3 separate regions of the Homo sapiens genome follow, and regions 1 and 3 are each linked to region 2. Evidence: promoter capture Hi-C in human tissues and cell types (Jung and others, 2019). All regions are on one chromosome and are shown on one strand. Each heading gives the region's core, a stretch centred on a gene start or on the middle of the fragment in contact. The rest is flanking DNA. Distances are from core to core; before and after follow the strand shown. Region 1 overlaps GLG1 (golgi glycoprotein 1). Region 2 holds the start of GABARAPL2 (GABA type A receptor associated protein like 2). Region 3 has its middle 64 kb from the start of LINC02125.

Region 1 (3,877 bases), core at 455-2,954, 1.1 Mb before region 2:
AGGTTCAAGCGATTCTCCTACCTCAGCCTCCCGAGTAGCTGGGACTACAGGTGCATGCCACCACGCCCGGCTAATTTCGTATTTTTCATAGAGACTGAGTTTCACCATGTTGGCCAGGCTGGTCATGAACTCCTGACCTCAAGTGATCTGCCTGCCTTGGCCTCCCAAAGTTCTGGGATTACAGGTGTGAGCCACCATGCCCAGCCTCACTTGGCTAAATTTAATATGGGCAAAACCATATGTTTCACTACTTGAAGCCACCCTCTAGATTTGGAAAGTACTTTTCTTCTGGACACACAGGGTGATGTGGGAAGTACTTATGTATCTTTCAAGCTGAGTCACTAGTTCTTTCAACAAGCTACATTTTAAAAAGCCCTGGGTGTGAATTAGGTGCCTCGAAATAAAGTCAAACCAGTCTATTTTCTTTTTTCTGTATCCCTTACTACAAGTGTAGCCTCAGTAAAAAGACAGGTTTAGGCCGGGCATGGTGGCTTACACCTGTAATCCCAGCACTTTGGGAGGCTGAGGCGGGAAGATCACCTGAGGTCCAGAGTTTGAGACCAGCCTAGCCAACATGATGAAACCCCATCTCTACTAAAAATACAAAAATTAGCTGGGTGTGGTGGTGGGCAACTGTAATCCCAGCTACTCAGGAGGTTGAGGCAGGAGAATCATTTGAACCCGGGAGGTGGATGCTGCTATGAGCAGAGGTTGCGCCATTACACTCCAGCCTGGGCAACAAGAGTGAGACTCTGTCTCAAAAAAAAAAAAGGTAGGTTCATTCCTAACCCCCGCCACAACAACCTTTCTGTGCTGCTTTAAGGATGAAGTGCAAATATAGGCTGTCTCCTGATTCATTTTTGGTCTGGGTCCCAGGACCCACACTGGCACAGAGGTTTCCCAAGGAAGTCACCAGTAACAACTGCACCCTAGAAACAACACTGTGGCAAAATCAAACGGCAGATTCCAGAAGCCTTCCCTCCTGCCCAGGTTGGTATTTTAAAGAAGTTACATTTGTCTGTTTTCCCACCATGGGATGCATAGACACGCATGCGTGCGCACACACACACACAGACACACGTGCACACATGCACTGGTGTCTACTCTGGGTCAAGGTGAGTAACTAAAGCTAAGACATAATTTTACTCCACATCCAAATTCTGTAAAACTGTTGTGTTTCAGACCGCAAAGTTTTGTTTCAGACTGTAAAAATCTGATTTTACACGATTATCAGGAAAATAAAATTCGAGTTGATATCCAGTTTTTAATAAAAATGCTAACTATAAAATAATAGACTGATTGTGGCTTTCTAAAGTTACACTGAGGGAGGAGAGCCTCAAGTTTCTACTATTCTAGGATATAAAGCGAAACTATCTCTTGTGCTCCCCAAAGGAAAGTTCACTGCACAGGGCACACTGGTGCACATGGTACGTTAAGTTGCTCTAAGACTCCTATCCAGTAAAAAGTAATCAACATGGACAACAGGAATGAAAGGGATGTACTAAATCTCTAATACATTAACTTGTGTTTTGTACCTGACCTACAGTTATTCAACTGTTTATAAACGCTAGATCAAGAAGAACTTTATCTCCCCAAGCAAAGTATGCTAACTGTGAGGTTTAGTGATAGAAAAAGGACTCCCACCATGGCACACGTTTACCCATGTAACAAACCTGCACATGTATCCTGGAACTTAACATTAAATTAAATTAAAAAGAAAATGGCTCTTCCATGCATAGTTGCCCTAGTATATGAAGAAAAGATAGTGTGATTTCAAAAATGACATGCTCTCTTGATCCTTCAGGCCAGGAATTCATGCCATGCGGTAAATTAGTAACAGAAAAAATTTAGAAACTTAGAAAAAATTTCAATTCATATCAACTCTTTTTCAGCCTCAACTCAATCAAATCTATTACAACAGGCAAATTCTCTCTTGGTAGAGGGCCTGTCGTCATTGATTGGAACCTGGTTTGCCTTGATTCTGAGTTTAGGAAATCCAGTCTAGCAAGCTGCCCTTTCTTTAGGAACTCTAGCAAATAATGCATTCTATCTATCTAAGAAGACAATTCTTTTTATTGATTATGAGCTCAAACTTTTGCTCTGTAGCAAATGTCACATTCTTACTAAGATATGCCTGAAGAAGCAACGTTCAGTCTCTGATCATTAGTACCTAATGTTCAATGTGATACCACAGATGATCCATATAAAGCAAGGTGGGACAGCATCAGGAAGAGGCTCTTCAGCTGATAAATGTGACATTCAAAATGGCAATAGCAATGTCTCCTTACCGCCTGCTGGCAGTTCATTCCAAGGTTCCCCTTCTCCCCTCGAACTACTTTCATCAGACAGTGTAGGGTCCGCCCTTTTCGATGTAATCCGGAACAATGGTGTTCAATCTCCCCCCGACAGCTTAGGATGATCTCAGGGCTCAGAGAAAAGTCTTCCATCAACATGCGTCGGTAATCCAGCATCTCCCCCTGGCACTCACTGCTGACTTGTCGCCCTAAGTTAGGATGTAAGTCATAACATTACGAAGGGTGATGCTATGTATTAGCATCAGAAATCACCACCTATTAAAAGTACATATTTCTATCTGTAATACAATATACCTATCAGACATGCTAACATCTGAAAAGTTTAGAATTAGCAAAAGCTTTAGCAGCATAAAATAGGCTTAGACTCCAGATATTCAGGCTTCTCCTGTCACTGTTCTGCATGAAACAGGTTTTATACTACTGCACTAATAATGCAAATGCTTTGCCCATGGAAATCCTATCAATAAGATAACTATTAGGGTAAAAATGAAAGCCAAAGAACAATCTCCATTGGCCTACACAATTAAAGCTTTTAGAAAAGACTACATTTAAGATATTCACTATAAGCTCCCCCAACTTCTTTGAGCTGTAAATGCCAATGGGGAAAACTTTTTTTTTTTTTTTTTTTTGAGACGGAGTCTCACTGTGTCACCCAGGCTGGAGTGCAGCGCGCGATCTCGGCTCACTGCAAGCTCCGTCTCTTGGGTTCACGCCATTCTCCTGCCTCAGCCTCTCCAAGTAGCTGGGACTACAGGCGCCTGCCACCACGCCCGGCTAATTTTTTTGTATTTTCAGTAGAGACGGGGTTTCACCGTGGTCTCGATCTCCTGACCTCGTGATCTGCCTACCTCGGCCTCCCAAAGTGCTGGGATTACAAGCGTGAGCCACCGCGCCTGGCCAGGAAAACTTAAAACAAAAAGATTAAAACAAAACAAAACAAAACAAAAACAGGTCACCCAGACGGTTTGTTTAGTGATAAAGCCAAAATTTGAAGCCAAGTCTGACCCATGTGCTAAATCATGCTACCCTGAGTCTCCTCAAAATGTTGCACAATGTGTATTTCAAAAATGAAAACTAGGCCAGGCGCAGTGGCTCACGCCTGTAATCCCAGCACTTTGGGAGGCCGAGGCAGGCAGATCACGAGGTCAGGAGATCGAGACTATCATGGCCAACATGGTGAAATCCCATCTCTACTAAAAATACAAAAATTAGCTGGGCATAGTGGTGCGTGCCTGTAATCCAAGCTATTCCAGAGGCTGAACTAGGGAGTCGGAGGTAGCAGTGAGCTGAGATTGTGCCACTGCACTACAGCCTGGTGACAAAGCGAGACTCTGTCTCAAAAAAAAAAAAAAGAAAAGACAAGAAAACTATTCAGCTGGGCACAGTGGCTCACGCCTGTAATCCTAGCACTCTGGGAGCTAAGGTGGGAGGATCACGTGAGGGCAGGAGTTTTGAGACCCGGGATGCCAACGTGGCAAAACCTCATCTCTATTAAAAAAAAAAAAAAATTGCTAGGTGCGGTGGCTCACACCTATAATCCAAGCACTTTGAGAGGCCAAGGT
Region 2 (3,956 bases), core at 132-2,631:
GATGAACTACCACATTCAAACATACAGGCTTTACAGGTGCATCAGAATCACAAGCACGTGGCAGGGTTCATGTGCCCAATTAAGTGAATATTCCTGCTACATGTTCAGCAGCTTATAAACAGATGGTGACCCAGACCAGACTGCCTTGATGAGTCTGCTTGGAAAAAAGGCATTACATCACTGATTGGAGAACCTCAAAGCATATGTCCGGGCAGGTGACACACACACAGCTCAGGCTGTGATTGCTAAACCACTCCCACAGCCAAATAAGGAAACCCATCTCATGACCAGCTCTCAGGGGAATTCTCCGAGTCTGACAGTCACCTCTAACTCCTCTGCCAGTTAAAATTAAGGGGTCTGTGATCAGTGATGTTACACTCCTCAAATGTGCATTTTTTTTTGAGGCGGAGTCTTGCTCTGTTGCCCAGGCTGGAGTGCAGTGGTGTGATCTCGGCTCACTGCCACCTCCACCTCCCTGGTTCAAACGATTCTCCTGCCTCAGCCTCCCGAGGAGCTGGGACTACAGGCGCCCACTACCATGCCTGGCTAATTTTTGTATTTTTAGTAGAGACGGGGTTTCACCATGTTGGCCAGGCTGGTCTTCAACTCCTGACCTCAGGTGATCCACCCGCGTCGGCCTCCCAAAGTGTTGGGATTACAGGCGTGAGCCACCGTACCCCGCCTCAAATGTGCATTTGTGATACCTTTTCGTAAATGTTTATTCAAATATTTATTCACGAATAAAGGAAGAAAACGGGATTTGTTTAAATTCAATTTCTAGGTCCAAGACAACCTACTACGGCTGTCCCTAATACGGACCTCCGGGTTGTCCTCAGTGCCGCTTCCAACAGTGTCCTCAAACACCCTCCCCTCCCATAATGAGCCCCCAACCTGTCACCACTCCGAGCAATACTCCCCAAACTGTCAACGCCCTAAACAGCTCCCTTGTTATCGCCAAGCTCTAGAAAGCCCTCCTTATGTCATTCTTACCCCTAAAGACCGTTCTTGTCACCAATTCCCCAGACTTCCCCTATGAACCGCTCTAAGAGCCCTCAGCTATCAGCCACACCCCCAAACAGCCCTCAGTAAGAGCCCTACACTATCAGCCAGACGTTTTCCGCCACCAACGCTCCCGAGACCCCACTCCTGTCACCAGTTCCCCGAACATTCCTGCGAGCAATGTCGCAGATACTGCTCACAGACGTCCCCATAACCAACTTCTTCGCCACCGCAGCCCAGGAGCCCCCAAAGGGGTCCTCCGCGGCCCCGCCCCTTTACGTGCGGCCCCGCCCCTTGGCGTGGCGCCCTGACAAATGGCGCCGGAAGCCCCGCCCCCGGCCGGTTGCTAGGCTCCGACAGCCGGAAGTCCCGCCTGCCGTGTAGTCGCCGCCGTCGCTGCCGCTGCCGCTGCCGCCGTCGTTGTTGTTGTGCTCGGTGCGCTGAGCTCCGCGGCTCCGCGAGCCGGTTCCGTCCCCTTCCCGCCGCCGCCATGAAGTGGATGTTCAAGGAGGACCACTCGCTGGGTAAGCACTTGGTCGTCGGCCCGGCTGCTGGGGGCTGGGGCGGCGGGTGGGCCCCCTCCCCCACTCGGGCGGCCCTGGGCCGAGTGGAGCGGGGCGGATGCCCTGCTGCGGGCTGGAGTCGCCCATGCCCTGGTGCCTCGGGCAGCGGCCCCCTGACCCCATGTCACCCTCCGCGGGCCTTGCTGGGAGCTAGTAGGGGACAGGACCGCGGCCCCGGGGACGCCGGAACCAGGGCCTGGGTTGTACGCAGGGCGCAGGAGGAGGAGGGCCGGGGGCCGGGAACCGACCGGTGGGCAGGCGCGGCCGTCAGCCCCGTTTGTTTCTCCCACAGAACACAGATGCGTGGAGTCCGCGAAGATTCGAGCGAAATATCCCGACAGGGTTCCGGTGAGTGGACTCTCCGCCCCCTCACCTCGCTGTCACCTCTGTCGTCTGGGACCCGTGATAGGCCCCAGGCCATTCAACAGTTGACAAGTTGAGGTTCCAGTCCCAGTTACAGTAGCTGACGGGCCAGACCGGGATGAGGCCGCCCAGGGCCGGGGCGTGAGGGGCTCGGGCTGGTGCTGTTCAGGGTGCCTCAGTGCTGAATCTCCCGATCTAGGCCAGCGAGCCGTCTGCAGCCTCGGGGCTCCCTGGCCAATTATGTAAGGAACGATGTTCTAGGACAGGGCAACAGGTCACTGCCACTTTTGGGAATGGTGGTGGAGGGAGACTGTCATTTTGGTCTTGGAAGTGGTACTTGAGTCTCAGGACGTTCATCTTTTACTTTGTCTCCATCTTTACCTAACTTCTAGCTCCGTTATCTCACCTTGACCCTGTCATCCTTGCCTGACCAAAATAATGTGAAAAGCCGCTGAAAACCCCTTCTGCCATATTTTCTTCTTAGTCAATAATAAATATAATGTTATATTTCTTCCATGGTTGGGGAGATAGTTTTGTAATCGTTATTAATTTTTAATGGACATTAAGGCCTGTTATTGTAGCTCTTTGCTTGTGAATAATTTGTCTGGGGAAAGGAGTAGGAGGGACGGATTTGAAACTTGTTCAGAGAGGAGCAACAGGCCAAATGAAGAACTTGGTTCTTGGCTGGCTAAAATTCCAGGCATTCCAATTAGTCCATCCATTCTTGTCTCCTGTGTTCCTTGGGAACACAGTAGTGTTTCCTGTAGTGTGAAGGTGGATCCATTCTGGGGTCCTGGAGTAACGGGCCATGGATGAAACCCTCCCCAGATATTCTTAGGTCTGCCCAGATAAAATGTGGAAAAGCTTAGTGGTAAGGGCTGCATTTCTCTTACATAATTGACCACAGAAAAGCACTTACTGTTTCCCTGTAACACATTTATATCAATTCTTAACCTCCAGAGCGTGTGGTTTATTAAGCCAAAGACATATTTTCTCCTGCTATGCAGTTCCCCACCCACCTCCTTGCCCACACTCTGTTCATCAGCTCCTCAGCCATGTGAGGCCAGAGCCTCGCTTTAGGAAACACAGTCCTGACCTCTCTTTACTTTCCCAGGTGATTGTGGAAAAGGTCTCAGGCTCTCAGATTGTTGACATTGACAAACGGAAGTACTTGGTTCCATCTGATATCACTGTGGCTCAGTTCATGTGGATCATCAGGAAAAGGATCCAGCTTCCTTCTGAAAAGGCGATCTTCCTGTTTGTGGATAAGACAGTCCCACAGTCCAGGTGAGAGGTGTTTACTAGATGGGCCCTCTGGTATTAGACATCTGGTTGGCTGCTTACGGAACTCCAAAACTTTGGAAGTCTGAAAACTCTTAGGGGTCCTGACTAGAAATCTGGATTTTATGCTCCCTGACATCAGGGGCTCCAGGAAAATAATGGCTGCAATACATAAGAGTGCATTTTGGATTCAGAAAATAGAACAAGGCCTGGACTTTTAAAAAAATGATGAAACTCAGCCTAAGATCTCCAAGAATCTTTTAAAACGGTTGAGAACTTATTTAGTCTTAAGCTATAGGTAGAACTGAGGCCTGAAATGAGGTTTTCTTCCCTGAAGGCAGTCCTGGCATGCTCCTCCACTGGGAGCCTGTGGGCCCTGCTGAGGCTCACTCAGTTAATCATCCAGTTTGCTTGCTCCCAAACTTGGTCAACTCTTTGACATTGTAAGAGTCTATAGCTGCCTGATCCTCAAGTCTGACAAAATGACTGCGGCACAGTAAAGGGCTCTGAAGTCTCTTTACAGACTTATACCTCCCTTGGTAGCACTTGCTTTGACTGTCAGACTATTGTGCTGCCTGGAAGCAATCTTTGGGACTGTAACTTGTGGCCTGAATGTAGGCAGAGGCATTAGAATTCCCGTTTTCTGTGTGTTTGACAGCCCAGCTTTAGTCCCCTGTGGAAAAAGGAAAGTGGATGGGCTCCGTCTAACCTCCTGGTCAGTCCTTTCCCGTTACTGAGTGGGTAGTTGTA
Region 3 (3,939 bases), core at 994-3,493, 1.0 Mb after region 2:
TGACCAAACTAATTTCAAATTAGGCACAATCTTTATATTAAGAACTATTGGTGATAATGTTGGTAATACTTTTTGAATGGTGTTAAATTTTCTGTCCACACATCCTTTTTGTACCTATGATTTGTATAAACTAAAGAAAATCTCTCATCTTTCCTGAAGGCTTTCTTGTGGAAATACAGTCCCATTTGATCTTACCATAGTTGAAATTTCATGATGTATGAAACTGATAGAGTGTTGAAATGTTCCTAAAAGTGTCTTTGTAGCAATTTTGCTTTTTCTGTTGGCTTCTGTAATGAAACTGAAGCTTAGGTACAGAAGTTAAGCTATAAGACACAGTAGAAACTTAGAGTTAGTCTTATTCTTGAAATCCACAATTTGAAGGGAAATATTTTTTGAGATATTAATAACATTCTTTTAAAAATTGCTACTAATTTGCCAAAATGAATCTTAGTTACACACATGGAATGATTTATTGCTATACGAATGCATTCCCATTGAAGGAGTGGTTTATGGAGAAGTGTAGAATCTCCTACTGATTTCCAGACAGTTCAGTGGAACCAAGGCAAACTTTAGCCTAATTCACACAGCTTTCAAATACCATCCATTTCTTTAAAACCCAAATACAAATAGTTTGAGCTCCTGTCTTGAGACTTCAGAAAGTTAGATCTTCTAGGTAGGTATCTTCTCTCCCCTAGGCTTTTCTAGAGATCCCAAAAGAATGGTGTCAGATTCAACTAACTCATTTTTGTACTTATAAGTTACTTCAGCCAATTGGCCCACATTAGATTACTTAGTGACCAAACTAGAGTTTAGCTTACCCTTGTTTTTCATGAGCAGCTGCTTCTGGCTGAAGCTCAGGTCTTCCTCTTAATTCACCAGATACAATGATGATGACATCACAGCTTTTAAGATAAAAATTACGGAGGGTTTGAAATAACAGACTATATATGCAGAAAAAGTGCATTCAGTTGGAAATCCATTATCACATTTCCTAGAATCCACCAATCATGCCATTCCAAGGGTTCTCTTACTTAGTCCTCAGTACTTTTGTCCCCCTGCCCAGGTGGCACAATTCTCACCCCCAAGCATAAAGGCCACAGTCCAAAAGAAAGGGCAGTTTCTTGTCAATGCCTGATTTCTTTCTGCCCTAGTGTCAGTGACAATCATACTCTTGGTGGAAACCTCTACTCAGACACAGGATAGGGTCTAGCTCCCAAGACATTGACAGGAAAATCAAAATGTTTGACAGTGCATTTTTTTCCCCAGAGTATAGAATATTCATCCTTGCAGAGTACCAGCTAGAAGATTCTGACATACCCTCTCTTTTACATCCTGTAGACCCACCACTGGGTTGACATGAAGATCAGCCTCATTTTTCTTGCTCTACGCCTTACTCCAGCAATGCATCTTTCTGCGACTCCCCATTGTTGGTGTCTTCCAGCGTTTCACATTTCATGGAAGAGCAATGCTATACACCTAGCTGTGAAAAGTTAAAAACAAGCCAGGAGTCCACGTTCATCGCACTCCCTATGTGATCCATCTCCACAGTCTATTTATTTCTTAACTATATTATAAATCTATCCCATATGTCTTTCTCCAAAAATCCCCATTCAAGATTGCCATCTCTTGGATAGTTCACTGAAGTGGCTGCCTAATTAGCCTATCATATCAGGACTGTAAACTTCTCAACTGATATAGTTTGCATCTGTGTCCTCATCAAATCTCATGTTGAATTGCAATCCCTAATGTTGGAGGTGAGGCCTGGTGGGAGGTGATTGGATCACGGGGCTGTTTCTCCCGAGTGGTTTAACACCACCCTTCTTGGTACTGTCCTTGCCGTAGTGACTGAGTTCTCATTAGATCCAGATGTTTGAAAGTGTGTAGCACCCCCCACCCCCCTCCACACACACACCTTTCTCTGTTGCTGCTCCTACCATGTTAGATGCCTTGCTCCTCCTTTTCCTCCCGCAATGATTGGAAGTTTCCTGAGGTCTCCACAGAAGCAGAAGCCTTTATGCTTCCTGTATAGCCTGCAGAGCTGTGAAGCAATTTAAATCTCTTTTCTTTATAAATTATGCAGTCTCAGATATTTCTTTATAGCAGTGCAAGAACAAACTAATACACCAACATGGCAGCCATTCTCTACTCTGCAAGCCTGTCTTTATGTCATCTCTCCCTCACTATTTCTCTTTAGCACTTTCTCCTTGTTCTTAGGATGAAGGCACAATTTTGTAACACGACTGTAACTAAACCCCATGAGGTCAGGAGATGTGTCTTTTTGTGTCTTACATTCAGTCCCCAGCACTGAGCACAGGGTTAATTGAGTAAATATTGATCAAATAAAGATGAAAGATAAGTTGTTTTCTGTACATATATAATTGAAGGGTCAGTTTCTGGTGTCGCACCTCATAAAAAAGGAAGGAAGTACCGGTGCAAAGAATAAGGAATAATTGATTACTTTCACCTCCAGAACTTGAAGCACCCCGGTTATGCTCAAATGCAACTTCTGCTATTAACAAAACAGATTTACCCCTCCCGCACACCAATCTATTTATCAACAAATACATTAATAAAGTTTAATTAAAGTATCATATATATAATATGATAACATAATTAAGATAAACCTTCTTTTACCTCTCTTACAGGGAAGCAAAAAAGAAAGAAAAAAATAGCCAAACTCATTTAAGAATGTCCTTAATGTGGCCAGGCGTGGTGGCTCACGCCTGTAATCCCAGCACTTTGGGAGGCCAAGGCGGGCGGATTAGGAGGTCAGGAGATCGAGACCATCCTGGCTAACACGGTGAAACCCCGTCTGTACTAAAAACACAAAAGAATTAGCCAGGCGTAGTGGCGGGCACGGTGGCGGGCGCCTGTAGTCCCAGCTACTCGGGAGGCTGAGGCAGGAGAATGGCCTGAGCCCGGGAGGCGGAGCTTGCAGTGAGCCGAGATCGCGCCAATGCACTCTAGCCTGGGCGACAGAGCTACACTCTGTCTCAAAAAAAAAAAAAAAAAAAAAAAAAAAAAAAGGATGTCCTTAATGAAGTTGTAAAAATTATTCATTTAATTAAAGCTTGACCCTTGACTGTAAGTCTTTTCAGTGTTCTGTGTGTTAAAATGGGAAATATACATAAAGTACTTCTGGTGCACCCTGAAGTGTGATGCACAGAAAACTTTGCTCTTCAGTTATAATTCTTATATTGTCCAGCCCTCGTATCTCTTATTTGCTCTTAATAAAATATGCTAGCCTCCATTCCAATTTTTCACATTTTAAGAAAGCGTGCTGTCATAATCAGTTATTTATTTTTGCCTGTTCAGCAGTAATCATGCCACCATGTAGAACTGACAGCTGGTTGCTCAATAATTATTTGATGCAAAACTTTCTTCTTTTGAGTTCATGTAATATATATATATAAACATGTTATATATATAACATGAACATATATATAACATGAACATATATATAACGTGATATATATATATACACAAAGACACACACAGTGGGTTGACAATTACAAACACTGTTATAAGTATTTTCATTAAAAGAAAGAGGGTATAGTTTGAGGATAATAAATTAGGCAGTGCATTTGAATTGGAAAAAATTGGGAGTTTTCAATATCGCAATGGCCTTAGATAAGTCAATGGGTATATCATATTTTCTAATACAGTTCTAATAATAAATTAGGCAGTGCATTTGAATTGGAAAAATTTGGGAGTTTTCAATATTGCAATGGTCTTACATAAGTCCTTGGGTGTATCATATTTTCTAATACAGTTCTGAGAAAGGATAGGTACTCAAGGAAGTGACCATGTTCTCTTGGGAGGCAGCAACCATGGTGACCACTCAGTCAACACAATAAGCCTCAGCCTTCGCATTGTAATTGTGCTCATGCAAGCAAAGCGATCTTCAGTAGGGACTTTCCCTTCTAGACAGCATGCACA

What was found. Contacts are between HindIII fragments. The study calls those that stand out against the background at their distance.
Region 1: a fragment that was not itself captured here is called in contact with the fragment with the promoter of GABARAPL2 in region 2 in 1 of the 25 tissues and cell types used here (mesenchymal stem cells).
Region 3: a contact is called between a fragment that was not itself captured here and the fragment with the promoter of GABARAPL2 in region 2, in 1 of the 25 tissues and cell types used here (pancreas).

Annotation. Positions count from the first base shown.
Region 1 is chr16:74,488,713-74,492,589 of GRCh38, forward strand. GLG1 (golgi glycoprotein 1) reads right to left here. Exons shown (of 26, transcript NM_001145667.2): 8 at 2,289-2,503. Among named protein-coding and RNA genes, the nearest start is that of CLEC18B, 69 kb to the left of the region's middle. The HindIII fragment of the contact is 3,618 bases long and covers 1-3,513 here.
Region 2 is chr16:75,564,998-75,568,953 of GRCh38, forward strand. It overlaps GABARAPL2 (GABA type A receptor associated protein like 2), which reads left to right and starts at 1,382. Exons shown (of 4, transcript NM_007285.7): 1 at 1,382-1,523; 2 at 1,855-1,910; 3 at 3,040-3,212. The coding sequence starts at 1,490. RefSeq lists a silencer at 1,445-1,854 and an enhancer at 1,844-2,597. The HindIII fragment of the contact is 9,271 bases long and covers 1-3,956 here.
Region 3 is chr16:76,568,647-76,572,585 of GRCh38, forward strand. No RefSeq gene overlaps it. Among named protein-coding and RNA genes, the nearest start is that of LINC02125, 64 kb to the right of the region's middle. The HindIII fragment of the contact is 5,663 bases long and covers 1-3,939 here.